Regions from separate parts of the Homo sapiens genome. Here regions 1, 2, 3, 4, 5 and 7 are each linked to region 6. Evidence: promoter capture Hi-C in 16 types of primary human blood cells and fetal thymus (Javierre and others, 2016). All regions are on one chromosome and are shown on one strand. Each heading gives the region's core, a stretch centred on a gene start or on the middle of the fragment in contact. The rest is flanking DNA. Distances are from core to core; before and after follow the strand shown.

Region 1 (3,408 bases), core at 571-3,070, 190 kb after region 6:
ACACTTCCTAAAAGAGGAGCACAAAGGAGAGCAAATTGTTGCTAAGCTTTTCAGAGACAGACCCCCAGCATCAGTGATATTCAAGGACACCAAGATATGGATGTAGATTTTGTTTGGATGGGTAGAGAACCAGCTCTAAAAAGAAGGAATGCTAGAGAACAAAAAAAAAAAAAAAAAAAAAAAATTTGATTTTGCTGAAGCATCCAATTTCTAAAGTTATTTCCAAGTAGCAGCAAAGGAAAAGCCTTGGACAGCTTCAGAAATTCTATGATAACACCTGTCTGAACTGAAGTCAGCACCCTGATCTGGAGATGTAACTCCATAGTAGACTATGAAACATCACCTCAAAAACACAAAAATGACCCAAAGAGAGAATCGCTGAGACTAAAATGAAGACCTTGGAATATGCAAGCAGATTAGAGGTAGTCAAACAAAAATGATAGCACTTTTATGCAAATATTAATAAATATTGAAAATCTCTTTAAGTGAAGAAAGTCACCAATGATGTAATACTGAGCAGAGCTGTCAGAGTCTAAGATTAGGTCTTTCTGCAAAAAAGAGGTCCTAGAGATAAATGCTTGAATCAAATATGGAAATATTTTAAAACAGAAGTCAGAATTGGCCAGGCGTGGGGGCTCACGCCTGTAATCCCAGCACTTTGGGAGGCCAAGGTGGGTGGATCATGAGGTCAGGAGATCGAGACCATCCTGGCTAACGTGGAGAAACCCTGTCTCTACTAAAAATATAAAAAATTGGCCGGGCGTGGTGGTGGGGCGCCTGTAGTCTCAGCTACTTGGGGGGCTGAGGCAGGAGAATGGCATGAACCTGGGAGGCGGAGCTTGCAATGAGCTGAGACCGCGCCACTGCACTCCAGCCTGGGCGACACAGTGAGACTGTCTCAAAAAAAAAAAAAAAAAAAAAAAAAGAAGTCAGAATTAAATAAACACTTCAAAATATAAGTAGCAAAAAATAAAAAATAAAAATAATGCACCTAGGAAACTCCTTGAATATATACCCAATAAAAGAGTACTGGAGAAAACCTTTATATATAAATATACATTTTTTGAGGCAGGGTGTCACTGTGTCAACTAGGCTGGAGTGCAGTGGTGTGATCTCAGCTCACTGCAACATTGGGCTCAAGTGATCCTCCTACCTCAGCCTCCCAATTAGCTGGGACTACAGGCACGTGCCACCATGCCCAGCTAATTTTTTAAAAAATTATTTATTGTAGAGATGGGGTCTTGCTATGTTGCTCAGGCTGGTCTTGAACTCGTGGCCTCAAGCATTCCTCCTGCCTCAGCCTCCCAAAGTGCTAGGATTATAGGGGTGACCCACGGTGCCCAGCCACTTAAAATGTTTTGACTGGCATTTGTGGCAAATTATAATTTTAAAAAACCCCAAACTTATTGGCGTACTTAATTTCACATAATTTTTATATTTTTTGCTTTAAGTGGGCAATTTTTATGCCACTTTTAAAGAAGCAATTCTATAGAGCATGGCTGGGGGGTTCAACACTGACCAGCTAATTTAGAAAGTTCCAAGACTATAAATTTTAAAATGGTGCAATAGGTCCCTACTGTCCTCATTAACTTCATATACAGTCATGCACCATATAATGAAATGTTAAGACAGCGATGAACTACATATATCATAGTGGTTCCATAAGATTATAATGGAGCTGGAAAAGTTCTATTGCCAATTGACATCCTGATAATCCTGCCCCCATGTGGGCCTAGGCTAATGTGTGTGTTTATGTTTCGGATTTTAAGAAAACAGCCTAAAAAAAAATTAACAGAAAAAAGCTCAGGTAAAGTACTTGTGTACAGCTCTACAATGTGTTTGTGTTTTCAGCTAGTTGTTATTACAGAGCCAGAAAGTTAAAAAAAATTTAAAGTTTATAAAGTAAAAAATTACAGTAAGCCAAGGTTAATTTATTATTGGGCTGCTCCGATGGTAATGGGTTAATCAGAACTTATTAATAACATATCACTAAAGTTGGTATACAACCACCACTGATGATTTGACTGGCTTAGAACAATTCATTATTGAAGAAAAAAATATTTTTATAAAGTCTACATGTCTAGCATTCATAAAGTCTACAGTAGTGTACAGCAATGTCCTAGGCTTTCCCATTCACTCACCACTCACTCACTCACCCAAAGCAACTTCCAGTCCTGCAAGCTCCAACCATGTAAGTGCCCTATACAGGTGTACCATTTAACAAAATCTTTTATACTGTATTTTTACTGTGTTTTTCTATGTTCAGATATACAAATACCAAGTTGTTATAACTGCCTACAGTATTCAATACAATAACATGCTGTACAGGTTTGTAGTCTAGGAGCACTAGGCTATACCACAGAGCTTGGGTGTATAGTAGGCTGTACCATCTAGGTTTGTGTAAGTACATTTTATGATGTTCATGCCACAACAAAATCACCTAACAATGCATTTCTTAGAATGTACACTCATCATTAAGCAACACGTGACTGTAAATCCATGTGCCACACATAAGAAAACCAGTCTAATTAACACACAGTAGTGCTCTGTTATTGCTGACTGATCACTACTTCTATTCGTTCTGTTATCAAGGGTCCTTCATTAAGAAATAGTACTTGTTTAATAATCTTTTTATTTTTGAATCCATAGAACAAATCCATTTTTCAGTTAAAAATAACAACAACCTCAGAAGTAATGAAGTCAAATATTCTAACCAGATATTGCAGAAACAGGGTCTGTCTGAAAGGCCTGACAGCATGCAAGGGCTTCTAGGAAGAAAAATACTTGCTTACACAAAACACACTGGCATGTATCTTATGCCCAGCTATCTTCCTATTTTCTTCCCCTTTCACAATTTTTTATTTTTTCAGACAGGGTCTCTATCACTCAGGCTGAAGCACAGTGGTGTGATCATGGCTCAATGCAGCCTTGATCTTCTGTGCTCAAGCAATCTTCCCACCTCAGCCTCTTGAGTAGCTGGAATTATAGATATATGGCACCATGCCCAGCTAATTTTTTTTTATTTTTTGTAGCGGTGGGGTCTTACTATGTTGCCCAGGCTGGTTTTGAACTCCTGGCCTCGAACTCCTGGCCTCAAGAGATCCTTCTGCATCAGCTTCCCAAAGTATCGGGATTATAAATGTGAGCCACCATGCCTGGCCCACTTTCATAAGTATTTATTCAGTGTCTACTATGCTTTAGAGCAGGGGTCCCCAACCCCCGGGCCACAGACAGGTACTGGTCCATGGCCTGTTAGGAACTGGGCCGCATAGCAGGAGGTGAGCAGTGGGCAAGTGAGCATTACAGCCTGAGCTCTGCCCCCTGTCAGATCAGTGGTGGCATTAGATTCTCATAGGAGTGTGAACCCTATTGTGAACTGTGCATGCAAAAGATCTAAGCTGTGTTCCC
Region 2 (3,556 bases), core at 1-2,500, 170 kb after region 6:
TTCTTTTTTGACTGATACAGTATCTTAATTACAAGGTTATTTTGTACTTGTCTTAATACACTAAGTGTAATAAAAACGGCTTGAGAAAAGTTTCTCCTTTCTGTGACTTCAAATAAGAACTCCCAGTATTGCCTAAATCTTCTAGGCAACCCTTTTTCCATAAGGAAGAGCATGGAGTGCTGTGGTCACCAGTAATCATTTTCAATTAATTAAGGTCATGAACAGTAATAATTTAAGCCTTGTTTACCAAGGTTTGAATTCTACTTTTGCTGTTGCTAAAGCTGTGGGCAATGAGGAGACACAGTGGCAGATAAAGACGAGGTGGTGACGCTGGAGGAGTGGGCCTCGGCTGCACACTGCAGTCTCGAAGCTTAAGTGTTGCTGTCAGTCAGTTCTCATCCCCAGAGAATTATTTAATTAATTAACTGGGGGGGGTACACTGGGGCATTAGACTTTTAAAAGCTCCCCGAGGGAATTCAAATGTGCATTCAGAGTTGAGAATCAGATGGATTCTTTCTTTTGTGGAAATGTTTTATAATATTGGACTCTTAATCCGCATTTCATTATTAAAGCATGCTGTGGAGAAAAAGTTCTTGGTTGGCCAATCATGAGGTTTAAGTTTCAGAAATAACCCTTTGCAGTATCAAACAAGTGTTTTACCTAGTAGTTAATAAATATTTCATCTAGGAAAGTTCATAGAAGTCCCTTGTGCTATTTAAGAACATTAAACAGCCGGCTGGGCCCAAGGGCTCATGCCTGTAATCCCAGCACTTTGGGAGGCCAAGGCTGGTGGATCACTTGAGCCCAGGAGTTCGAGACCAGCCTGGGCAACATAGTGAAACCCAGTCTTTACCAAAAATACAAAAATTGGCCAGTCTTGTAATTTGGGTCTCAAGCAAGAACACTTAACAGCATACCTGAATTTGACTAGTGACCTTCAGGGTTCATTCAGTTCTCATAAAATCTCCTTACACCCTTTTACCTGTAGTAAAGACACTGAGACTTGCTTGACTTACCATTAGCAAAAACTTCCCTGCAATTGAGGCAATTCTTTTTCCTCCTAGAAGAAACACCATCTGGAAAATAGCCCAAGCTAGGATAAAGTTTTTACAGCAGAGTCAAGTTATACAGTCTAATAACTAGAAATTTCTAGGTACTTCTCGCAGAGAATGAAAGTGGGAAGGAGTTTTCTAACACTGGGGCTTTCTTTCCCTTGTCTTTACAAAAGACAAAGCCTAGGCAGTCAGTCAGTAGCACTAGAGTATTCCTTATGGGCATTAAGAATTTCTCTTGTTTCCTGCCTCAATCCCCCTTTCCCATCAGCCTACCACTTGCTTGTCTCCTACACCAGAAAAGGATGCAGACCACCTTTTGACCAGGGCTCCCTTCTCACACTATCACCTAGTCAAATTTCTAGTTTTACGTAGTCTGCCCCTACTGCTGTCACTGTGGCCTCTTTATCTCCACCACATCTGACATTTAATTATACTCTTCTGGGAATTCTGTTCACTGGGCTTCTTAATCCTCCCCCAACCCTCGTTTTCTTGTATCTCCTGTTAGTCTATGTATTTTTTTCTAAATTAGAAATACTTTCTAAAAAACTTCCCCCAAATCAGTTCTTAACCATCTTTAGTTCACGTGACTCTTGACTTTTTGGGTGATCTCACTTACTATACCACGTTGATTCCAGATCTGGATTTTCTGGGCAATTTAATGTGTCAAAACTTACCTTTCACTGAAGCTATGAGCATCTGTCCATGTGCTGAATTAGAAACTTGAGTCATCCTCTCTAACAATTCAACTGGTCTGTCTGTTATTTAGAACCTCCAAAAGGCCTGGATTGTTTTTCCTCCCTCTACAATGGGTCTAGATCTTGTCCCTCCCTCGACTAGACGGCCGTGACTGTGGGTGCCATTAGACACACACAGCAGCTCAATCAGGGCTCAGGGAAGAAGGCTTGTGAACCCTGGGCAAAATCTTTTAATCTCTTAGGCTTATTTCCTCAATTGTAAGAAGTACAAATAATAGTATCTATACTTTATTCAGCTATTGGGAAGATTAAAAAGAAAAATATACACATTGGGTACATAGTAAACACTCAATGGTCAGTAACCTGTCTTTTGAAGCTTTACCTTCAAGGTCCAAGTTAAAGTATCAATTCTTCAAATACAATTTTTTATATTGGTCCAGCCAAAATTAATCTTTCCCTTATTCATACACTGGTGGCATGTTTTTAGAGCTCTATTATAGAAATCAGTGCCTTTAAGTTGTTCATATATAGGTCTCTTCTAATAAATTTGATGGCAGGGATTAGGTTTTTAGTTTGCATCCTGTACAAGATCTTTACCACAACAGGTTCAAATCATGTGTTCATAATATAGTTCTTATGTTCTGGATTTTTTCTTTTTAAAAAGTAACAGAAAACTTGTTAAATTTGTCCACCTAAAATTAATAGGCTAAAACTGAAAGCATGAAGTATTTACCAAAGTGAAATCTCATTAGTGTAATAATCTACCACTACTCTGTTAAAGAACAGATTTTTGTTGAAGTATATATTTTCATGCAAATAATCTGTTCTCATTTACATGAAACACGACAGATGAAATCTTTCAATAAATCTAACTTAAACTATGCAATATCCGTAAGTATAAACATTTTATTTCAATTTAAGGTAGTAGCAATACAAAATAAGTTTTGATAATTATAAAGTAGAGACAATGAAAAATCCCACCCTATTTTTAGAATTTTAAAATATTGAGCATCATTCTGTCCTGATGGGTTTTTATGTAAAGTGGGAATTTACATGACACCAGTATCTTGGCAATTCACTTTTTTTGAATGCTACATATCCCAATCACCATATATTAAATTCTCTATTTTCTTCAAAGTGCTATTGCCACAAGAGACTGAACGATACAGCAATTTAAAAAAAGACCACACAAACTAAATTGTAATGTCTTCAATATCTCAATTACTGTTTTTTAAAAATAAAAACTGCAGTAGTGAATTTCTTTAAGTTCTTGCTACATGATTGAATGGGAGATAACCTCAACAATTTTCATTCTTAGGCATGAGCATCTTCATGCTAAGGTAGTCTATACTTAAAAGCTTTATTCTTTCATAACACCTGGGCAACAAATATTTTAAAATCATAAATAATGCAAAATTAAAATCAGTTATGGTGGCACAATTCATTTGGTAACTAGTTGCCCAAGATGTATAGTAGAATCAAGCAGGTTTAACTTCCACATGCTCTGCAAAAAAGGGAAACAATGGAAATATTTCGGTATATTAATCTAGCCCACTATTCCACTCAAGGAATCTATATCCTTTCTTTTTCTCATCTGGTCTCAGTTCCTTTATCCTCTTAGCAAAGGCATCTCACAGTGATGACTGAGTCTAATTTTAATCATATGCACTTTTTATACAAAATGGCCCCTAAAATGCAAGCCAACTCTATATACACAAAACCATGTAAACGGTACCTCTAGGTGATTTAGGTAATTCTGACTATATACAGTTCTTACCAAACACCCTGACAAGCACCAGATTCCAC
Region 3 (3,888 bases), core at 1,389-3,888, 150 kb after region 6:
GTAAGTCATGAAGGTATTTAACATTTTTTCTGTATTGCATCTTATACCTCAAACCAAGCTCTGCTAACATTTTCCTCTTTAGTACTATTATAAGCAGGGCCTCACTTCTTCCGCTGGCTCATTGGGTTTCTCTGCTGTGAGTGAATCACTGCATGACTTGTGCACACCACAGGACCTGAGAGCATAGAGCCCTATTCAAATAATGTATTAAATACCAGGGCCTGGGGCCTTTATTACGATGTGAAGGTAAAATGTTATCGGTTGTACCAAAGATTTCTAGGTGTCATCTTTCATATGATGGTGAGAACCAGATAGCCAGCTCTCTCCGGGATTGTGAAATTGATTGGTTTCTGACTTTGGAAGTCCTGTGTTTTGTGATGACACTGAGAAGCAATGTCGCAGTTAAACTTTCCTCAGTTAGATAAGTGTGTAAACTCTTTGGTGCTTCCTGTCTTGGCCTGGCCTGCTGCCTGATACACTCCTGCTTTGCAGAATCTTCCCTAGGAGACCTTTTGACAGCATGGTGCTTCCTCAGTGCACCAGAGGGAGAGATCTCCCTCTCTTCCCCTTCTTACAAGGGCACTGATCTCCTCATGAGGGTCCCACCCTCAGGACCTCATCTAACCCTAATTACTTCCTGATAAGGTTTGGGTCTGTGCTCCCTCCCAAATCTCCTGTCGAATTGTAATCAGCGATGTTGGAGGTGGGGCTTGGCGGGAGATGATTTAATCATGGAGGCTGTTGCTCATGAATGGTATAGCACCACCTCCCAAGCACTGTTGTTTGGACAATGAGTTCTCATGAGATCTGGTTTAAAAGTGTGTAGCGACTGGGTGTGGCGGCTCACACCTGCAACCCTGTAATCCCAGCACTTTGGGAGGCCGAGGCAGGTAGATCATCTGAGGTCAGGAGTTTGAGACCGGCTTGGCCAACATGGCGAAACCCTGTCTCTACTAAAAATACAAAAATTATTATTGGTGTCTTAGCAGCTACTCTTGCCATGTATTGCTGGCAGGGAGACTGTCCAGTGGTGGTGGCATGGACCTGTAGTCCCAGCTACTCAGGAGGCTGAGGCAGGAGAATTACTTGAACCCGGGAGGCAGAGGTTGCATTGAGCCAAGATCGCACCACTATACTCCAGCCTGGGCGATAGAGTGAGATTCAGTCTCAGACAACCAACCAACCAACAAAAAAAAAGTGTGTAGCACTTTCCCCGCACCCAGGATCCAAGTCCAGGCACTTTGTGAGATGCCCTGTTCCCCCTTTGCCTTCTGCCATGATTGTAAGTATCCTGAGGCCTCCCCAGAAGCTGAGCAGATACCAGAATCAGGCTTCTTGTACAGCCTGCTGAACTGTGAGCCGATTAAGCCTCTTTTCTTTATAAATTACGCAGTCTCAGGTATTTCTTTCTTTCTTTCTTTCTTTTTTTTTTGTTGAGCTAGAGTCTTGCTCTGTCACCCAGGCTAGAGTGCAATGGTGTGATCTTAGCTCACTGCAACCTCCGCCTCCTGGGTTCAGGTGATTCTCCTGCCTCAGCCTCCCGAGTAGCTGGGACTATAGACTTCTGCCACCACACCCAGCTAATTTTTTTGTATTTTTAGTAGAGACGGTGTTTCACCATGTTGGGCAGGCTAGTCTTGAATTCCTGGCCTCAAGTGATCCACCTGCCTTGGCCTCCCCAAAGTGCTGGGATTCCAGGCGTGAGCCACCATGCCCGGCCCATAGGTATTTCTTTATAGCAGTACAAGAATGGACTAATATGGCTCCCAAAGGCCCCACTTCCTAATATAATCACATTAGGGATTAGGGCTTCAATATGTAAATTTGGGTGGGCACAAACATTCAGTCCATAACAGGAGCCTTCCTGGAAATCTCACTCAGTGTTCATTTACCTCTCATTAGCTGTCACTTACCAGAGGGACCAGTTGTAGTGAGGGCTGGGAAGTGAGGGTCTTTAGCTGAGATATTGCCTCCCTTTGAGACCACAACGAATAGAGAGAATAGACAGTGGGGCATGACAGGTGCCCAGTGCTTACTTGAGTGAATGAACCGGTAAGTGCATGAATTATGGAGAGATGGCATCTGGTTTCTGTGGGTTAAATGTGGAATGAGGCCTCACATTAGTTGTACCTGTGATATGGCAAGGCAAACATGTATCCTATGTCACTGTACAGGAGAAGGAATCTCGCAGAAACTTCAGACGCTTGTCCGGAATTTGACAGCACATGTTCTTCTCAAAGGCAGCTTCACATGGGCTTCCTCTTTTCCTTTGTAGAGATCTGGTTCTCTTATTTGGAACTCATCAGATACATGGCAGAGGGTGTGAAGAGGTGCTGGGCCCGTGGTACAGCAGCCACCTTTCAGAAGGCCGTCAAAAGAGCATCTTTTCTTGCTTGAAGAAATAAGGGATTCATAACTGAAGCAGAGAGAACTGGGAGAAGAGAGTTTACCCTTAAATGTTGCTGAATTGAAATACTAAAAAATTCCTAAAAAGGCAAATACAAATCCCATTTTAGGATCCTGTGGGATTCATCCTGTCTCCTGGAGTTGGTGTGAAGCATATAGGTAGGAGAGGCCACCTATGGGTAGGGGGTGGAGTGGCTTTTAAGGTGACAGGTTCCCTCTGCTTCCTCTCGTTCCCAGCAGCTTGGCCTGCGGAGGCCCTGCAGGGCTGTCCTCACATGAAAGAACTAAGAACCACTAATGGGCCTGGAGGCACGAGGTGGGGCAGGGGTTGGGGGGGTGAGTTGGTCAGCTCTAGGGAGGGTGGGCATCCTTGTTCTCCTTGTGTAGCTGAGGCACACCTGAGTGGAAGTGGGCGACTGGTCCCAGGGCCACATGGTGAGTCCACAGCAGGGGCAGGTCCCTGGGCCACTTTGGTTGAAGGTTTAGCCTGGCATTCATTCAAGGTCTTCACTGGAGTCCTTTTTAAAAATTTGATCTGAGGTATCATCGAATCTCCTACAGGCACTCTGTTTTGTAATGTCTTTATCCTACAGGCACTCTGTTTTGTAATGTCTTTATCCTACAGGCACTCTGTTTTGTAATATGTCTTTATCCTACGGGCACTCTGTTTTGTAATGTCTTTATCCTACAGGCACTCTGTTTTGTAATGTCTTTATCCTACAGGCACTCTGTTTTGTAATGTCTTTAGAGTCTCAAATCCTTCCTTCTGTCCCCCACCTCATCAGCCCATGTTTTCAAATCATTTGTGTCCTTAGTCCTGAGTTCGGGATCCTCCTCCTTTAAGAGGCCTTCCTTGGTTCTTTGTACTGGAAATAATTTCTCCTTCACATTCCCTGCCATTCCTCCCTTCCTGCTGTGGCACTGTCACATACAGCGTTGTATTACAGACTTCTGAGTGTCCACTCCATGCTTGGTTCGGGTCTCCATCTGATTGTCATCGTCGCCTGGAGGGCTGGGTCTGGGTCTGGTATGCAGTACACAATCACAGAGTGCTCGGGAAAAGCTGTTCTTTGCCTTGGGGGCTGGCGTGCTCTGAGTCTCTGATTTTTTTGTTCCCCCTTCTTTAACCTTCTTCACAAAGCGTCCTCAGCCTGTGGTTTCTGAAGACTTCCTCGAAGTCATGCAAGAATTGCTTGGGGAAGGGTGGGGTCCCTGTAGTTCCCCTCTTCCCGAGTCCCAGGGGCTGCCTTAGGGACGTCCCACCAGGGCTTATGTAACTGACTTGGGGATGTGGTTAACCGAGGGAGGGTGGTGGGACGAGGGAGGGTGGTGGGACGCTGCAGAGGCGGGTTTGTGGCTTCTACCCTGCTGGGGAATTCAAGGTGAGCCTGTAGAGTGGTGACTGTGATGTTTCAGTGCTGATTTCTCATGCAGTCACACAGCTGCCATCACATGGCCCATCTTGGGGTAAAGGTATCTACT
Region 4 (3,581 bases), core at 410-2,909, 210 kb after region 6:
TATCTCGCTAAACTTGCTATTTAAGAAAAGTCTGAGATTTTGTTAGTTCTTTAAAGTTACGTGTTTTTGGTTTTTTTTTAAATACACGGTCTCACTAGGTTGCCCAGGCTGGCCTTAAACTCTTAAACTACTGGGCTCAAGTGACCCTTCTGCCTTAGCCTCCCAAGTGGCTGGAACTACAGGCACTCACCACTGTGCCCAGTTTGTGCTGATGTTTTCAAAACTTTAGCCTTCTTAAATGCCTCTCTGAAGTATATACTAATTCCATTGATGAAAAAGATACCAAAGCTCAAAAATGTTGAAATATCTAGCCCAGTGTTTCTCAGCCTGGCATTATTGACATTTTGGGCTGGATAATTCTTTGTTGTGGGAGACTTTTTAGCAACAGCCTTGGCCTCTACCCAGCTAAATCCCAGAAGCATATTCCTTGCCACCCAGCAGCGTGAAAACCAAAAACTTCTCCAGAAATTGCCAAATGTCCCCTGGGGGGCAAATTGCTTTCTACTGAGACCCATTGATCTAGTCTAAGATTTCACAGCTACAAGTGAAAGGGTAGAGACTCAACAGGGATCTTTTAATTCCAAGTCTTGAACTCTGTACTACGACGGTTAATTTTACTTTTTATTTTTCGAGACAGGGTCTTACTCTGTCATCCAGGCTGAGGGCAGTGGTGTAATCACGGGTCAGTGCAGCCTCAACCTCCTGGGCTCAAGCAATCTTCCTGCCTCAACCTCTGAGGAGCTGGGACTACAGGCACACACCACCATGCCCAGCAAATTTTTTCAATTTTTGTAGGGGTGAAGTCTATGTTGCCTAGGCTGATCTTGAACTCCTAGATTCAAGGGATTCTCCTGCCTCAGCTTCCCAAAGTGCTGGGATTACAGGCATGAGCCACTGTGCCGGCCTATACTGGTTAATTTTAAATTATGTTACCTTTCCCCACCCCAAAATCAACTCTCTCTCAGGATTCTCTTAACTGTCAGCAGACTATCTTGTTTTAAAACTTAGGGTTCCTAACAGGATTTTTATTTGAAAAAGGACTTTTCTGCTTAAAATAATAAATAAGAAAATCCTTTAAATTGTCTAGAGATTATACTCCATTTCTTCAACAAAAGCAGAAAGAAGTTGGTAAAACAAGCTATGTTATGCTTTAAAAATCCTTTTTAAGGCCAGGCATGGTGGCTCACGCCTGTAATCCCAGCACTTTGGGAGGCCGAGGCGGGTGGATCACGAGGTCAGGAGATCGAGACCATCCTGGCTAACATGGTGAAATCCTGTCTCTACTAAAAATATAAAAAATCAGCTGGGTGTGGTGGCAGGCGCCTGTAGTCTCAGCTACTGGGGAGGCTGACGCAGGAGAATGGCGTGAACCCCGGAGGCGGAACTTGGCAGTGAGCTGAGATCGCGCCACTGCACTCCAGCCTGGAAGACAGAACGAGACTCCACCTCAAAAAAAAAAAAAAAAAATCCTTTTTGAACTCTATTTCACTGGCAAGTCTTTATTCTTCAAGAGATTGGGGTGTCTCATTTGATGCTTGAATATCACATATATATCAATGTTTAGAATTTATTTCCCAAAAATCACATGTAAGTTTTTAGGCTTAGCTGTATTTAATATAAAGTAAGAATAATTTTTAAAATTCCTTAGAAAAAAATGATTCATATTTATTTTTTCCAATTGTCACAAGGATTTCAAGGGTTTAAAGAGCAATCTTACTGGAATCAAGACCCTAGGGCATAAATGTGCTTGACTGTGTGTACATATGGAAAAGAAAGATGGAAATATACCTTAGGCTGCCAGAGATTCTACTCCTGGAATAATATCACCATATAATCTCTCCTTTCTAGAGCATTCTGCTTTAACATTTAGTCTAGCATGCTTCAGAAAGGGGTTTCCATGATAGTGCAATGTTGACACTGTTCTCTCTCCACACCTGATGAAGTCCTCCTGAGGACATGGACTGTCACTCATCTATTACCCTGTACTTACCATAGAGCCCAAACATGTATTCAATACATAGTTATTGAAATGAAGAAAACTATCTATGAAAAAACAAGGAGATCATGGAAGTAAACATGAAAGACTACCTTCCCTACTTCAAAGATAATTTTATTTGAAAACACTGGTTATGAAACAAAGTTCCTAATATTGGGCAGTTAAATTTAAGAACTTCATTTACTTGGCTGGGAAAAGAAAGTTCCTTTGAATTTTATATGATATTTTGAATACATGAATCAATACTTTGTATCAAGTGAGGTTCCAATAACACAGGCAGTACACTTTTCAATACATGCAATTTCTGGGCACTGTATTAAAAGTAAACCGCCTTGTTTTTAAGGGAACTGTCATAACAAGGAATCCAATGATTAAATCTACTTTATCCCAACGATGTTCTTGTAATTGCTCGTATCTACTCAAAATGAGTGGTAGAAAGTTACACAAAGTCCATGAGAATAAATATTCTTCTGCTTGGCGCTTTATCATGCAGCAACAGAAAAAGAGGGTTAAAAAGAATCCCTACAGAAATCAATGTATTTGTAAATACAATGTCAACATCAGTTACCTCTAACAAAACTGTGACCATTAAGACTATATATTTCTATTATTGTACCTGTTGTGCTGTTTACAAAAATAAATACAAGTAGTTCCAAGTCTCTGTTTACATGTCACTTTCCCAAGATATGGTTTTAAAGAGTTTAGCAAAGGTCTGAAAGTAGAAGACACCGAAAGAGAAGACACTGTGAACCTACTGCTGAAGTCTGTAAACACTGAAGAGGAACAGTCACTTAATTTTATAAGGAAGAGACGTGACAGATATTTTAAAAGCAGACTTTAACTGAATCCTAATCCTAACTTTGCCAATGATAAATTGTTTGAACATAGGTAATTCACCATCTCTGCACTCTGGGAAATTAGGAAACTGGACTATATTGTCTATAAGGTTCCTCTTCAAAGATCTATGACTTATTTCTAAATGACTTTTAAAGAGGTGATTACCAAAAGTGGAATGAGCAGCAACAGAGTGAGCATCAAGATTCAAAGATAAAAATGAAGAAGAGAAACAAACATGGGGGAAAGACATGATGGGAGAAAAGAAAAAATAGAGTGACAAGTTTAGTAGTCCTTTACTAACCTGCTGAATGTAGAGCTTGAACTCTTTCCAGATACTCAGTTATTTTTTCTTGAATATTTTCTAGGCTTGATCCTGCCATCTCAGCATAAATTAAGGCTTGTGCAGCTTCCTAAAAATGAAAGAATTCAAAGGAATCCAATAGATGTATTACAACTTGAATTTTCTTTATCACATTCTCATTCAATATTGGTTTCCATGAATGACAAAACAAGAATGTCTTTAAATTATTATTAATAGTAATTTTTTTCATAAAGTAGTTATACAATCTTCCAATGTTTTCTTCAGTATTCAATGTTCTCAATTTTCTTTTACTTTTCTTTTTTGAGACAGAGTTTTGCTCTGTCACCCAGGCTGGAGTGCAGTGGTGTGATCTCAGCTCAGCTCAACCTCCCCAGGTTCAAGTGATTCTTGGGCCTCAGCCTCCCGAGTAGCTGGGACTATAGGTGT
Region 5 (3,762 bases), core at 950-3,449, 140 kb before region 6:
CTTCGTCTCAAAAAAAAAAAAAAAAAAAAAAAAAAAAGAAAAAAAAGGCAAAGAAAAAGTTTATGTGTTTGTGTGTGTGTGTTTTTTTTTTTTTAAGCTTTTAGAGGAACTTGATAAAACACCATGGCAGTATCCTCCAGAGAGCAAGTGGTGGAAAACTCTGAGAGAAAAAATGAAGAGCAATGAAGCTGCATCCAAGGTAAAATCGGACCTACTGACGCTCAATAACAGGTCAGGCTCATGATTCAGTTACTTCTGCCGTAATGTGACATGTGCATTCCTAAAAATCACCTTGATGTGCAAAATTGTGCAGTGAAAACCCCAGGTCTCATGGAAAAAGGGATTTAGTGGCACAACTCTCAAAAACTTTGTGTAACATAAAAATAAGATAAGAACCTAATGTTTTAAACGTGTTAAATGGTTAAGAAATATATGCCAATGAATATAGCATTTTACCTTGAAAAAGACCTGAAGTTTCTGAAAGGTTGTAGCTTGTGAGTTACTGTGAGCTGGTGGAAGGAAGGTGATTGGACATTGGATAGAAAGTCATAATAGTGGAAGTGGATGGGTGTGCCTTCAGTTTGATGGTGGCATAGAACATCACAATTAAACACCTGTAATCCTAGTGCTTTAGGAGGCCAAGGCAGTAAGATCAATTGAGGCCTGGAGTTTGAGACCAACCTGGGCATAGCAAGACCTTGTCTCTACAAAAAAAAAAAGAAAAGCCAGATGTGGTGGCACACACCTGTTGTCTTGTCTCCTCAGGAGGCTGAGGTTGGAGGATTGCTTGACTCTAGGAGTTGAGGTGGCAGTGCAGTAGTAGATCATGCCACTGCACTCAAGCCTGGGTGACAGAGTGAGAACCTGTCTCTAAAAGAAAAACAAATTAACTATTAAGTGGTTTTTTTTTTTTTGAATCCTTAAATCTTGGGTTGAGATGTTTTTCTGCTTTTAAGATATAGGTCCTTCAGGGCGTGCTATTATAATAGCTGTTTCATAAAAATTGAAATTTTGATCCAATGTATAGCCTTCTTTTTTATTTAACATTTTTATCACTGCTGGAAATTTTTTTGCAGCGCTCTCATTTGCACTCTTGGCTTTGCCTGGTAGCTAAGGTTTTGGAAATTGTAGTGATGATACTAGAAACCATCAAACTGTCTACTACTAGCACTAAAATGAGTCAGTGCTGCAGGATTTGGCGATTTCTAGTAAAGTGTGTGTGTGTGTGTGTGCATGTGTGTGTATTGTGCTTTCCCTATGTGAGAAAGGTGGTTTTTTTTTATTGTTTTGTGTATTCATATGTATCTTTGTTCAGCTGGGTGCAGTTTTCTGTGTCTTATGCGTGATTCCACCAGTGTTTCTTACTGGTGGAATCACGCATAAGCAAATATAAAATTTGAGTTATGCTCACTTGGTTCCCTAATATATCAATTGTCTTAGAATAAATTCACATTTTCGCATCAAACATTATAGCAGAATTGATTGTACATGAATCTGTCTTACATTGGAATTTTTTTTTTTTTTGGGGACAGAGTCTCACTCTGTCGCCAGGCTAGAGGGCTGGAGTGCAATGGCGTGATCTTGGCTCACTGCAACCTCTGCCTCGCAGGTTTAAGCAATTCTCCTGCATCAGCCTCCCAAGTAGCTGGGACTACAGACGTGTGCCACCACGCCCAGCTAATTTTTGTATTTTTGGTAGAGATGGAGTTTCACCATGTTGGCCAGGATGGTCTTGATCTCTTGACCTCGTGATCCGCCCGCCTTGGCCTCCCAAAGTGCTGGGATTACAGGCATGAGCCACCGTGCCTGGCCTACATTAGAATTTTAATCAATGACTGTTTCTATCTGGAGCCAGTCTCAATTTTTTTTTTTTTTTGAGATGGAGTTTCACTCTTGTTGCCCAGGCTGGAGTGCAGTGGCGCGATCTCAGCTCACTGCAACCTCTGCCTTCCAGTTTCAAGCAATTCTCCTGCCTCAGCCTCCCGAGTAGCTGGGATTACAGGTAGCTGGCACCATGCCTGGCTACTTTTTTTTTTTTTCTTTTTTGAGATGGAGTCTTGCTTTTGTTGCCCAGGCTGGAGTGCAATGACACGAGCTTGGCTCACCGCAACCTCCGCCTCCTGGGTTCATGCAATTCTCCTGCCTCAGCATCCCGAGTAGCTGGATTACAGGCATGTGCCACCATGCCTGACTAATTTTGTATTTTTAATAGAGACAGAGCTTCTCCATGTTGGTCAGGCTGGTCTCGAACTCCCGACCTCAGGTGACCTGCCCACCTCGGCCTCCCAAAGTGCTGGGATTACAGGCGTGAGCCACCGCACCCAGCCAATTTTTGTATTTTTTTTAGTAGAGACAGGATTTCACCATGTTGGCCAGGATGATCTCGAACTCCTAACCTCGTGATCCGCCCGCCTTGGCCTCCCAAAGTGCTGGGATTACAGGCGTGAGCTACCATGCCTGGCCACCAGTCTCAATTTTATTTCCTGAGTCATATCATGACTAATCTTTTCTTTCGCATAGGAACGATGTTGGTTTAAGATAGAAGGGACTTGCTTCTCTTCTTTAGTGCAGGAGTATAGGAGGGTCCCTCTTTACCTTGTGTATAATCTCCAGCAGAACAAAGTAGCATAGGTGAAGAGGCAGTCCTGGGGCCAGATGGGACTGTTGCTGCTAAAGCTCTCTATGGCTTTTTCTCAGCCCTGAAAGGCATGTGGCTAGACAAAGGCGTTTACCTTGCTGTTTTTCTCTCCATTCAGGGACTCTTTAGAATAGTGGGGGTAAGATAGCTCCTTTAACTCTTAAGTGTGTTGGGGGAAAAACTAGATTTTCAGATTGTATTCTAAAATTGTGACATTTTAAGTTTAGGGTCATAGTTCAGATGAAAATATTCTGGAATAAATTTCACTTTTTCTAAGGCACCGTTTTCCTAAGAGTGCTCAAATAAGAACGTTTAGTTTTATGTAACCCAGTGCTTCTCAGCTGTCTTTACTGTAGGACTTCTCAATGTCTTTAATACACTCCTGTGCATTGCAGATCTCCAAGAGGCGGGATATTCCCGAGCTTATTTAATTGTGTTCCCAACTGGGACTGTGGTACACATGTCCCCCAGGGCTGTTCACAGGTCAGCCAACTTCTCAGAGTGGCCATTTTATAGCCATTTGGAAACCTTGTAGCTTGTAGTTGTTGCGTATTTCCAAATAAGTTTGATAGCATCTTATTAACATTGGTTATTTTCATTGTATCCCAATTTAATTTGATTATATTCCCATCTACTTTTCAGGAACTAGCTTCTAAAAAATCCCTGCCTATGAATTATTACACAGTATTCTACCATGTTCAAGAACAACTACCTAGAGACTGTTTCGTGGTAAGTGAAGGAGCAAATACTATGGACATTGGACGGACTGTGCTTCAGAACTACCTTCCTCGTCACAGGTAAGACTTCTAAAGAAGAAAGAAGTCGTAATTCATTATAATGTGTTTAATATGAAACTGTAATAGTGCAGATTAAGAAGACGTTTGAGAATTAATACATGTTTAGTATGTAAGGACATATTTCATAAAAGTATCCTTAGGTGAGGTTTTGTAGAGTTTTTATGCTTGATGTGTTCTTGGTATCATGATAATTGTTTACTTAGTATTCTAGGAATATGTTTATAGTCTTCCAAGCAAACATGGGTGGCTTTTTTCTATCCTTGACAAATTAGTTCCTAGCAGTCTAAAGATTTTATATTGAAGAAAGAGAATGTTTTTATGGTTCTT
Region 6 (3,755 bases), core at 1,060-3,559:
GCATCTCCATTTAAGAATTAAAATTATTACTCAGATGAATGGAAAATAAAAATAATTTAGAATTCTTAAAAAACTGTTTCGTTATGGAAAACTTCAGATACACAAAAGTAGAGAGAATCGTACAATGAGACCTGGTATACCATTATCCAGTTTCAATTATTACCAACTCAGGGACAATCTTGTTTCATCTACACCTCCACATACTTTTCCTCTGACCCCCTTTTGATTATTCTAGAGGGAAAAAAGAATTTACAGGCCATTTTATTAAACAAAGATATTCCCTTCTCCCAAGGGAGAGAGGAAAATTGTCTCATCATCCATAATAAGTTGCTTTTTTAGGGTTGTGAGGATCAAAAGTAACAGCATATGAAACAGATTCTGTGACTGTAAACTCTATATGAAATATGAAAGGCCACAGCATCATCAAAAGCTGATTTCATTCCGCATAGAAACTGTCAAAATTAGGATTTGCCATACTCAAGTTCCATAGCTGTTTTTTGTTTTTTTTTTTTTTTAATAGTGATGGGGTCTCACTATGCTGCCCAGGCTGGTCTCAAACTCCTGGGCTCAAGCTATCTGTCGACCTCGGCCTCCCAAAGTACTGGGATTATAGTGTCAGCCACCACTCTCAGCCAGTTCCACAGCTTTAACAAAGACACTTCGTAGATGTTCATAGCAGACAACTGAACTGTATCTCCGCAAGTTATCCTGCTCGTGTTTCTAAACTGCAGTTAGAATACAACATAATAGCCATCTTAATTCACATTCACACCTGCCTCAAACTGCAGGACAGGTGCACACATGAACTATATGATTTAAATTCCACATTGCCCTTCACCAAAAGAAAACATCAACTTAGTAAACTCTTCAGGAAATGATGTTCTTATCTTATTCCCATCTCTTCTCTCTGAAAGAGCTGGATCTGCTGTCAGTAGGAAGCATAGCAATGGCATGGCAAGTGACTACACAAAGATGGGATTTCATTATCTAAAACGCCCTCTTCACATGTGTTGAGTCACATCTATTAGGTCCTCTGACAAAAACAAGTCTTAACAACAGCGTTAGCACCACGGAAACCAGAAGTTCATGAATCACGGAGGGATGCTCTGTCAGCCAATTCCTAACTGCCAAACCTTCACCCAGGACATAGGGTGGAAGTGCACTCTCTCAACAGCGTCTATAATTATGTAGAAAAAGGTCCGGCATAATGACTATTTGGACATTCCTTACGCCTGCTCTCTTCTGCTTCCAAACGTAGACCAATCTTTAACCTATCCCAGGCTCACGAACTCTGATTTGACTCTTTACCCACAAGGAACTTGGTCTGGAGGAAAAGCCCGGGTGGTATAGGTGACCTCAAAAGACATCCAAGTCAAATGAAGCACAGAAAGGAGATGGAAGAAGACTCTGATGAGGCGCAGAGAGGATGCCAATTCTTTGGCTGTAGAGGGGACAAAGCACAGTATTTGGGAGTCCAGGACCAAGTCGGAGGAGAAAAGCAGGGAAGAGAATGGGTTCTAAGGCAGTGGATGAGGCTCATAACAAACAAGAAGCGTCTTTTAAATGTGGAGAACCCTGATGGGAGCATCGGAAAGGAGGGGAGGGGTTTCGAGGGAGAAGTGGACCCGGATAAGAGGGGGGAGGTTTGCCTTGGGGGAGGGAGGTTTGCCTTAGGGGCGAGGTTGGGGGCGGGGAGGGATGGAAATGGAAAGAGGCCAAAGACCTTTGGAACTAGTGTTTGAGACTGTGAGGTAGAAGAATAGTAGGGAGTGACGAAGATTTGGGAGAAATAATCTGGGTAAAAGAAGGGACAAATCGATGTCCCAAAGGATTTGGGGTTCGAGAGAAAGTAACTGACGCTGGCAGGGGGTTCCCTGGAATCTGAAGGGCCGAGGGAAGAAAGGAAGGAGTCAAGGTTGATATGTGGCGGCTGGAGCGGCCGAAGGGAACCGTGGGGAGCGCTGACTTACAACGAATAGTGTGGAAGGAGGCCCGCGGCCGCTTCTCGAAGCTCTCCCCGAGCCTCAGGCAATGTTCCTCGCGGTCCAGCAGCGGGTTTGCGGTCCCATTCATGGCCCCGCACCTGCCTCGCACCCAGATCGGCGCTCTCCCGGTGCAGCCGCGATCCGAGCTTCTGGCGCTGGCGTCTGGGAGGACTGTGCTTCCGGGCCACCGCTCTGGAAGACAAGGAGAGCCGAGCCGGCACCCACCCGGGTCCAGAAGCAAGTTCTCTCCTCTGCGTGGGGGTGAGAGAGGAATCTGAGGAGGCAAGGCCGTGGGACTTCCGGCGTCGGGTAGGAACTTCCGGGTTCCTAGCGGAAGTGGCGGGGGCGGTGCCATGGCAAAAGAACTCCCGGATAATCCGAATTCGTGGTCCTCAGAATTGGTTTAGGGTTGTTTCGCGGTTCTTCCCGTATTCTGCCTCCGAGGCCCAGTGGGGCTGGCTGTGGGGTGAGTGCGCCTGGCCCTAGCCCTGCAGGTGAATTTAGGAACTGATGACGGTGAGCCCTGAGCGTGGCTGACTAAATTAACGCGGGTCGGCTAGCCATCATGGACGCCCTCCTCAGGGTCTAGGGGCCCATGCAGCCTAGTCTATCCTGAGGGTCCTGAGATGGATCCTCGGGACCTCAGCCACGCGTCATTGGGTCTCTTTCTCCACTTTGCCCGGTGATGGCGGTGCGAGGGTCTCAGTCCCTGCAAAGTGACGCTCCCTCTGGTTCCTATGACAGCCTCTTGTGAGTGTGATCAGGAAATGAGCCCACCCAGGCTTAGCTTCATTTCCCCCGAAAAAACGGAGGTCCGACCCTTGGGAAACGATGACCTCACTTGTATCTGACAATTGACCACCCGCTTCCAGCTAAGGCCATTGTGGTTTTTAAGTCACCCCTTTCGCGGGCACCGAAAATTGAGGAATATTTTCTTCGCAAGGTTTCCCAGTCAGTTCTTGAGAGCGTCCTTTTTCGTAAACTAAATCGATTTATTGTAATAGTTGACTCATCTGGTTTGAATAAAAGTATGGTGCATGAGATAGTCTGGCCACTGAAATGAATGTAAGCCCACTGAAGGTAGGGACTGTGTGTTTGTCTTCTTTGTGACCTCTCATATAGCGGGAAGGATTTTTTTTTGTACAGTCTGCATCTCATAAACATTTGGTGAATTGAACCTGGCGTCTTGAACTGTAACCACTAACCAGAATCTAATTCTTTTCTCTGCGAAGCCCCCTGTGCTGTTTGAGGCGTGAAACTCACCTCAGGAAATGTATCTGATCCATTAGCGTGGATTCATATTATTTGGTGATGGAGAATCTTCAGCTGTGTTAAGTGTTACCGTCAGTTTCAGAGATGGCTTCTTTGCAAAGGAAAGGGCTGCAGGCAAGGATTCTCACCTCTGAAGAAGAGGAGAAACTGAAAAGAGACCAAACTTTGGTGTCTGATTTTAAACAGCAGAAATTGGAACAAGAGGCTCAGAAAAATTGGGATCTTTTTTACAAAAGAAATAGCACTAATTTCTTCAAAGACAGACACTGGACCACCAGAGAGTTTGAGGAGCTAAGATCATGTAGAGAGGTAAGCTAATATTACGCCTTATCTGAGCTGTTCTTCATTTAAAATGTGAAGAGGGTGCCATGGCTCATGCCTGTAATCCCAGTACTTGGGGAGGCCAAGGCAGGCGGATCACGAAGTCAAGAGATCGAGACCATCCTGGCCAACATGATGAAACCCCGTCTTTACTAAAAATACAAAAATTAGCTGGGT
Region 7 (3,710 bases), core at 652-3,151, 230 kb after region 6:
TGTGCTAGAAGAGGATCAACTGCTTGAGATTGCAAATGATGGTGGCCTTAAAAGTATGTTTGAGACAACTTCAAATCTTCGTATGTTCTGGACTAAAGTCAAAGTGGTAGCCTGAGATTGCCACAAAAGCACTGAAAAGCCTGCTTCCATTTCTAACATCCTATCTTTATGAAGCAGGGTTTTTTGTAGTGAGAGAAACCATAATGAGATTATGGAGTAGACTGGACATAAGCAACACATTTCAGGTGTCACTGTCTTCCATCACCCCCAGATGGGACCATCTAGTTGCAGGAAAACAAGCTCAGGGCTCCCACATATTCTGCATTATGTGAATTGTGTAATTATTTCATCATATATTACAATGTAATAATAGTAGTAACAAAGTGCACAATAAATGTAGTGTGCTCGAATCATCCCCTCCCCATCCCCGCAGTCTGTGGAAAAATGGTCTTTCATGGAACTGGTCCCTGACACCAAAAAGGTTGGGGACTGCTGATGTAGAGATTAAATTTTTTTCATGTCCACTCTAATGACGAAAACAAGCAAATTGATGGAGAAAGTCATTTCACAATTTTGTTACCATTTTCTAACTTTGCAAACCTTCAGCACACTGATTAATATCTCTAAGCCTCAATTTTTCTCATCTGTAAAATAGGTAGATTAGTAACTACCTCATAAAGTTTTAGAAGGATTGAATGAGATAATGCCAGTAAAGCCTTTAGCACAACACCTGGCACATATGAAGTATTTGACAAAGTTATGTCCTGCAACACTTGACTGTGCTCTTTACTCTTCATGACTGTGTTCTTTTGGGATAATCTGTCAGTGCAGGGGCAGAAGAAATGGTTACAGAACCATTTAACCCTTATCTCATTTACCTCTGAGCTGCTTGGAATTCCACTTCCTGAACTCTGATCATCTTGGGAAACAGAAGCAACAACAGCATCCTCTGAAGAGCTCAGTCATTGATAGGCAATGGGAGTGTTTATCACATCTTTTTCTTATAGTCTCTGAGTGCAGCTTCACAATCCTTTACTGCACCCTTAAGCCAGATGTGTTTTGGAATTTGAAATTCACAGAGAACTCCCAGACAGTAGGACTGAATCTTGATAAGGAACTGGAAGCATATACCAAACTGCATTTCAGAATTTTTCTAGATTATTGCAGTGTGCTTGCCTCTTCCTCCCTTTCGAGTAGGATTTTCCTATAGGGATCATCTTATGCCTCTTATCACTGTGCGTTGGGTGTGTGTGTGGGCGGGGGGGGGGGTGCAGATTGTCTCTTTAACAGAGCTCTAATCAAAAGGAGTGATATTTAAGGAGCTGCACCCAAATGAACCACACCAAGGCATCTCATCTTCACCTGAACCTGATTTAGATGACAAGCTCCTGGACTTCAAGCTGATGTTTTAATAGTTTGAGACTTGAGAATTCTAGGGGTGTGATTTGAATGTATTTTGCATGTGGGAGGCATGAGAAATATGGCCAGAAAGCAAACTGTGGCAGACTGTATTTTACAAATAGGCCAAAAGCTTTATCTTACATCCCACGTGATCTCCTTACAAGGGTATCTTCATGTCCCTTCTTTTAAGCGGTAGGATCTTTGTCCCCTACCATGCATCCTGGACATAACTTTGTGACTGCCTTGACTAATAGTGTATAGTGGAAGTGCTACCATCTAACTTATGAGGCTAAATCATAAAATGCCACTCACTTGTACCTTGCTCTTATCATCTAGACACCTTGGACTGGATGACATAATTTGCATTGTTTTAGTAGTTACAGCTTCTACGTGGCTGATGGCTAAAATAGTATTCACAGTCCTCTTCCAGAGCAGGAACTTGAAAGTGCTTCCACTTCACAAATTCCCAAAGGTTAAATGTATAATGGCATCAAATTAAGGAAGTTTATTCTTTTCAGATGATTGCAAGCTGGTTTATTCAGTAGAAATAGAAAATAAGATTGTTTTCTCCCTTTTCAAAAGAAATTTTGCTGTAGCAGATATTCCTATTACACAACAAGTGGAAATTGTGTTGGTTTATACACAGTTTTTCCCAGGCACAGGGAACCATATTAGTATGAGTAGAATTTAAAACATCAACAGGATGGCTACTACTCAAGCCGGAACCTTTTCAGCTCAAAATAAAACTACGCCTGTCTTGAGAGCAGTTCCACCAGCTCAGACTTCCATTCCATCTACACAGTCTCTGAATGCAATCCAGAATTTCCACGTTATGGTTTTTTTTTTTCATTGTTGTTGTTCTTAAGCTTTTTAAAATTTTTGTATGTGTACTTTTAAAAAAGTTTTCAGCTTTTATTTCAGATACAAGGGATGCATGTATAGGATTGTTACATGGGTACATTGGACCTAGGTAGTGAGCAGAGTAACCATCCATTATGATTTTTTGTGTTTTTATTATTTATTTATTTATTTATTTATTTATTTTATTATACTTTAAGTTCTGGGATATACATGTGCAGAATGTGCAGGTTTGCTACATAGGTATACATGTGCCATGGTGGTTGGGTGTACCCATCAACCCGTCGTCTACATTAGGTATTTCTCCTAATGCTCTCCTTCCCCTAGCCCCCCACCCCGCAACAGGCCCTGGTGTATGATGTTCCCCACCCTGTGTCCATGTATTCACATTATTCAACTCCACCTTATGAATGAGAACATGCAGTGTTTGGTTTTCTGTTCCTGTGTTAGTTTGCTGAGAATTATGGTTTCCAGCTTCATCCATGTCCTTGCAAAGGACATGAACTCATTCTTTTTATGGCTGCATAATATTCCATAGGGTATATGTGCCACAGTTTCTTTATCCAATCTATCATTAATGGTCATTTGGGTTGGTTCCAAGTCTTTGCTATTATGAATTGTGCTGCAATAAACATACATGTGCATGTGTCTTCATAGTAGAATGATTTATAATCCTTTGGGTATATACCCAGTAATGGGATTGCTGGGTCAAATGGTATTTCTGGTTCTAGATACTTGAGGAATTGTCACACTGTCTTCCACAGTGGTTGAAGTAATTTACACTCCCACCAACAGTGTAAAAGCATCCTTATTTCTCCACATCCTCTCCAGCATCTGTTGTTTCCTGACTTTTTAAGGATCGCCATTCTAACTGGCATGAGGTGGTATCTCATTGTGGTTTTGATTTGCATTCTCTAATGACCAGTGATGATAAGCTTTTTTTCATAGTTTCTTGGCCACATAAATGTCTTCTTTTGAGAAGTATCTTTTCATATCCTTTGCCTACTTTTTAATGGGTTTTTTTTTCATGTAAATGTGTTTAAGTTCCTTGTAGATTCTGGATAGTAGCTCTTTTTCAGATGGATAGATTGCAAAAATTTTCTTCCATTCTGTATGTTGCCTATTCATTTTGATGATAGTTTCTTTTGCTGTGCAGGAGCTCTTTAGTTTAATTAGGTCCTACTTGTCAATTTTGGGTTTTGTTGCCCTTGCTTTTGGTGTTTTAGTTATGAAGTCTTTGCCCATGCCTATGTCCTGAATGGCATTGCCTAGGTTTTCTTCTAGGGTTTTCGTGGTTTTAGGTCTTATGTTTAAGTCTTTAATCCATCTTGAGTTAATTTTTGTGTAAGGTGAAAGGAAGGGATCCAGTTTCAGCTTTCTACATATGGCTAGCCAGTTTTCCCAGCACCATTTATTAAATAGGGAATCCTTTCCCCATTGGCTGTTTTTGT

What was found. Contacts are between HindIII fragments. The CHiCAGO score rates a contact against its expected background, and 5 or more counts as called.
Region 1: a fragment that was not itself captured here is called in contact with the fragment with the promoter of METTL6 in region 6 in 1 of 17 cell types (naive B cells); the score reaches 5.2 in naive B cells.
Region 2: a fragment that was not itself captured here is called in contact with the fragment with the promoter of METTL6 in region 6 in 12 of 17 cell types (monocytes, total B cells, naive B cells and 9 more); the score reaches 8.5 in monocytes.
Region 3: a fragment that was not itself captured here is called in contact with the fragment with the promoter of METTL6 in region 6 in 1 of 17 cell types (monocytes); the score reaches 6.3 in monocytes.
Region 4: a fragment that was not itself captured here is called in contact with the fragment with the promoter of METTL6 in region 6 in 8 of 17 cell types (naive CD8 T cells, fetal thymus, activated CD4 T cells and 5 more); the score reaches 7.9 in naive CD8 T cells.
Region 5: a contact is called between a fragment that was not itself captured here and the fragment with the promoter of METTL6 in region 6, in 5 of 17 cell types (M2 macrophages, M1 macrophages, M0 macrophages and 2 more). The highest score is 6.7, in M2 macrophages.
Region 7: a fragment that was not itself captured here is called in contact with the fragment with the promoter of METTL6 in region 6 in 6 of 17 cell types (activated CD4 T cells, naive CD8 T cells, naive B cells and 3 more); the score reaches 7.0 in activated CD4 T cells.

What each region holds. Positions count from the first base shown.
Region 1 is chr3:15,235,626-15,239,033 of GRCh38, reverse strand. All of the region lies in intron 12 of CAPN7 (calpain 7), which reads right to left. Among named protein-coding and RNA genes, the nearest start is that of SH3BP5-AS1, 17 kb to the left of the region's middle. The HindIII fragment of the contact is 3,544 bases long and covers 49-3,408 here.
Region 2 is chr3:15,251,386-15,254,941 of GRCh38, reverse strand. It overlaps CAPN7 (calpain 7), which reads right to left. Exons shown (of 21, transcript NM_014296.3): 21 at 2,026-3,556. SH3BP5 (SH3 domain binding protein 5) reads left to right here. Exons shown (of 9, transcript NM_004844.5): 9 at 1-589. SH3BP5-AS1 (SH3BP5 antisense RNA 1) reads right to left here and starts at 758. Exons shown (of 3, transcript NR_046084.1): 1 at 1-758. The HindIII fragment of the contact is 1,756 bases long and covers 373-2,128 here.
Region 3 is chr3:15,271,793-15,275,680 of GRCh38, reverse strand. The region is part of intron 3 of SH3BP5 (SH3 domain binding protein 5); the gene reads left to right. Among named protein-coding and RNA genes, the nearest start is that of SH3BP5-AS1, 20 kb to the right of the region's middle. The HindIII fragment of the contact is 9,619 bases long and covers 1-3,888 here.
Region 4 is chr3:15,211,766-15,215,346 of GRCh38, reverse strand. It overlaps CAPN7 (calpain 7), which reads right to left. Exons shown (of 21, transcript NM_014296.3): 2 at 3,135-3,243. Among named protein-coding and RNA genes, the nearest start is that of CAPN7, 7.3 kb to the right of the region's middle. The HindIII fragment of the contact is 7,625 bases long and covers 1-3,581 here.
Region 5 is chr3:15,568,105-15,571,866 of GRCh38, reverse strand. It overlaps HACL1 (2-hydroxyacyl-CoA lyase 1), which reads left to right. Exons shown (of 17, transcript NM_012260.4): 12 at 98-199; 13 at 3,281-3,435. Among named protein-coding and RNA genes, the nearest start is that of HACL1, 32 kb to the left of the region's middle. The HindIII fragment of the contact is 4,200 bases long and covers 100-3,762 here.
Region 6 is chr3:15,426,098-15,429,852 of GRCh38, reverse strand. It overlaps METTL6 (methyltransferase 6, tRNA N3-cytidine), which reads left to right and starts at 2,309. Exons shown (of 6, transcript NM_152396.4): 1 at 2,309-2,451; 2 at 3,218-3,566. The coding sequence starts at 3,342. EAF1 (ELL associated factor 1) reads right to left here and starts at 2,255. Exons shown (of 6, transcript NM_033083.7): 1 at 1,971-2,255. The coding sequence starts at 2,073. RefSeq lists an enhancer at 1,899-2,178 and a silencer at 2,175-2,338. The HindIII fragment of the contact is 9,714 bases long and covers 1-3,755 here.
Region 7 is chr3:15,194,468-15,198,177 of GRCh38, reverse strand. It overlaps the pseudogene COL6A4P1. Among named protein-coding and RNA genes, the nearest start is that of CAPN7, 9.9 kb to the left of the region's middle. The HindIII fragment of the contact is 736 bases long and covers 1,534-2,269 here.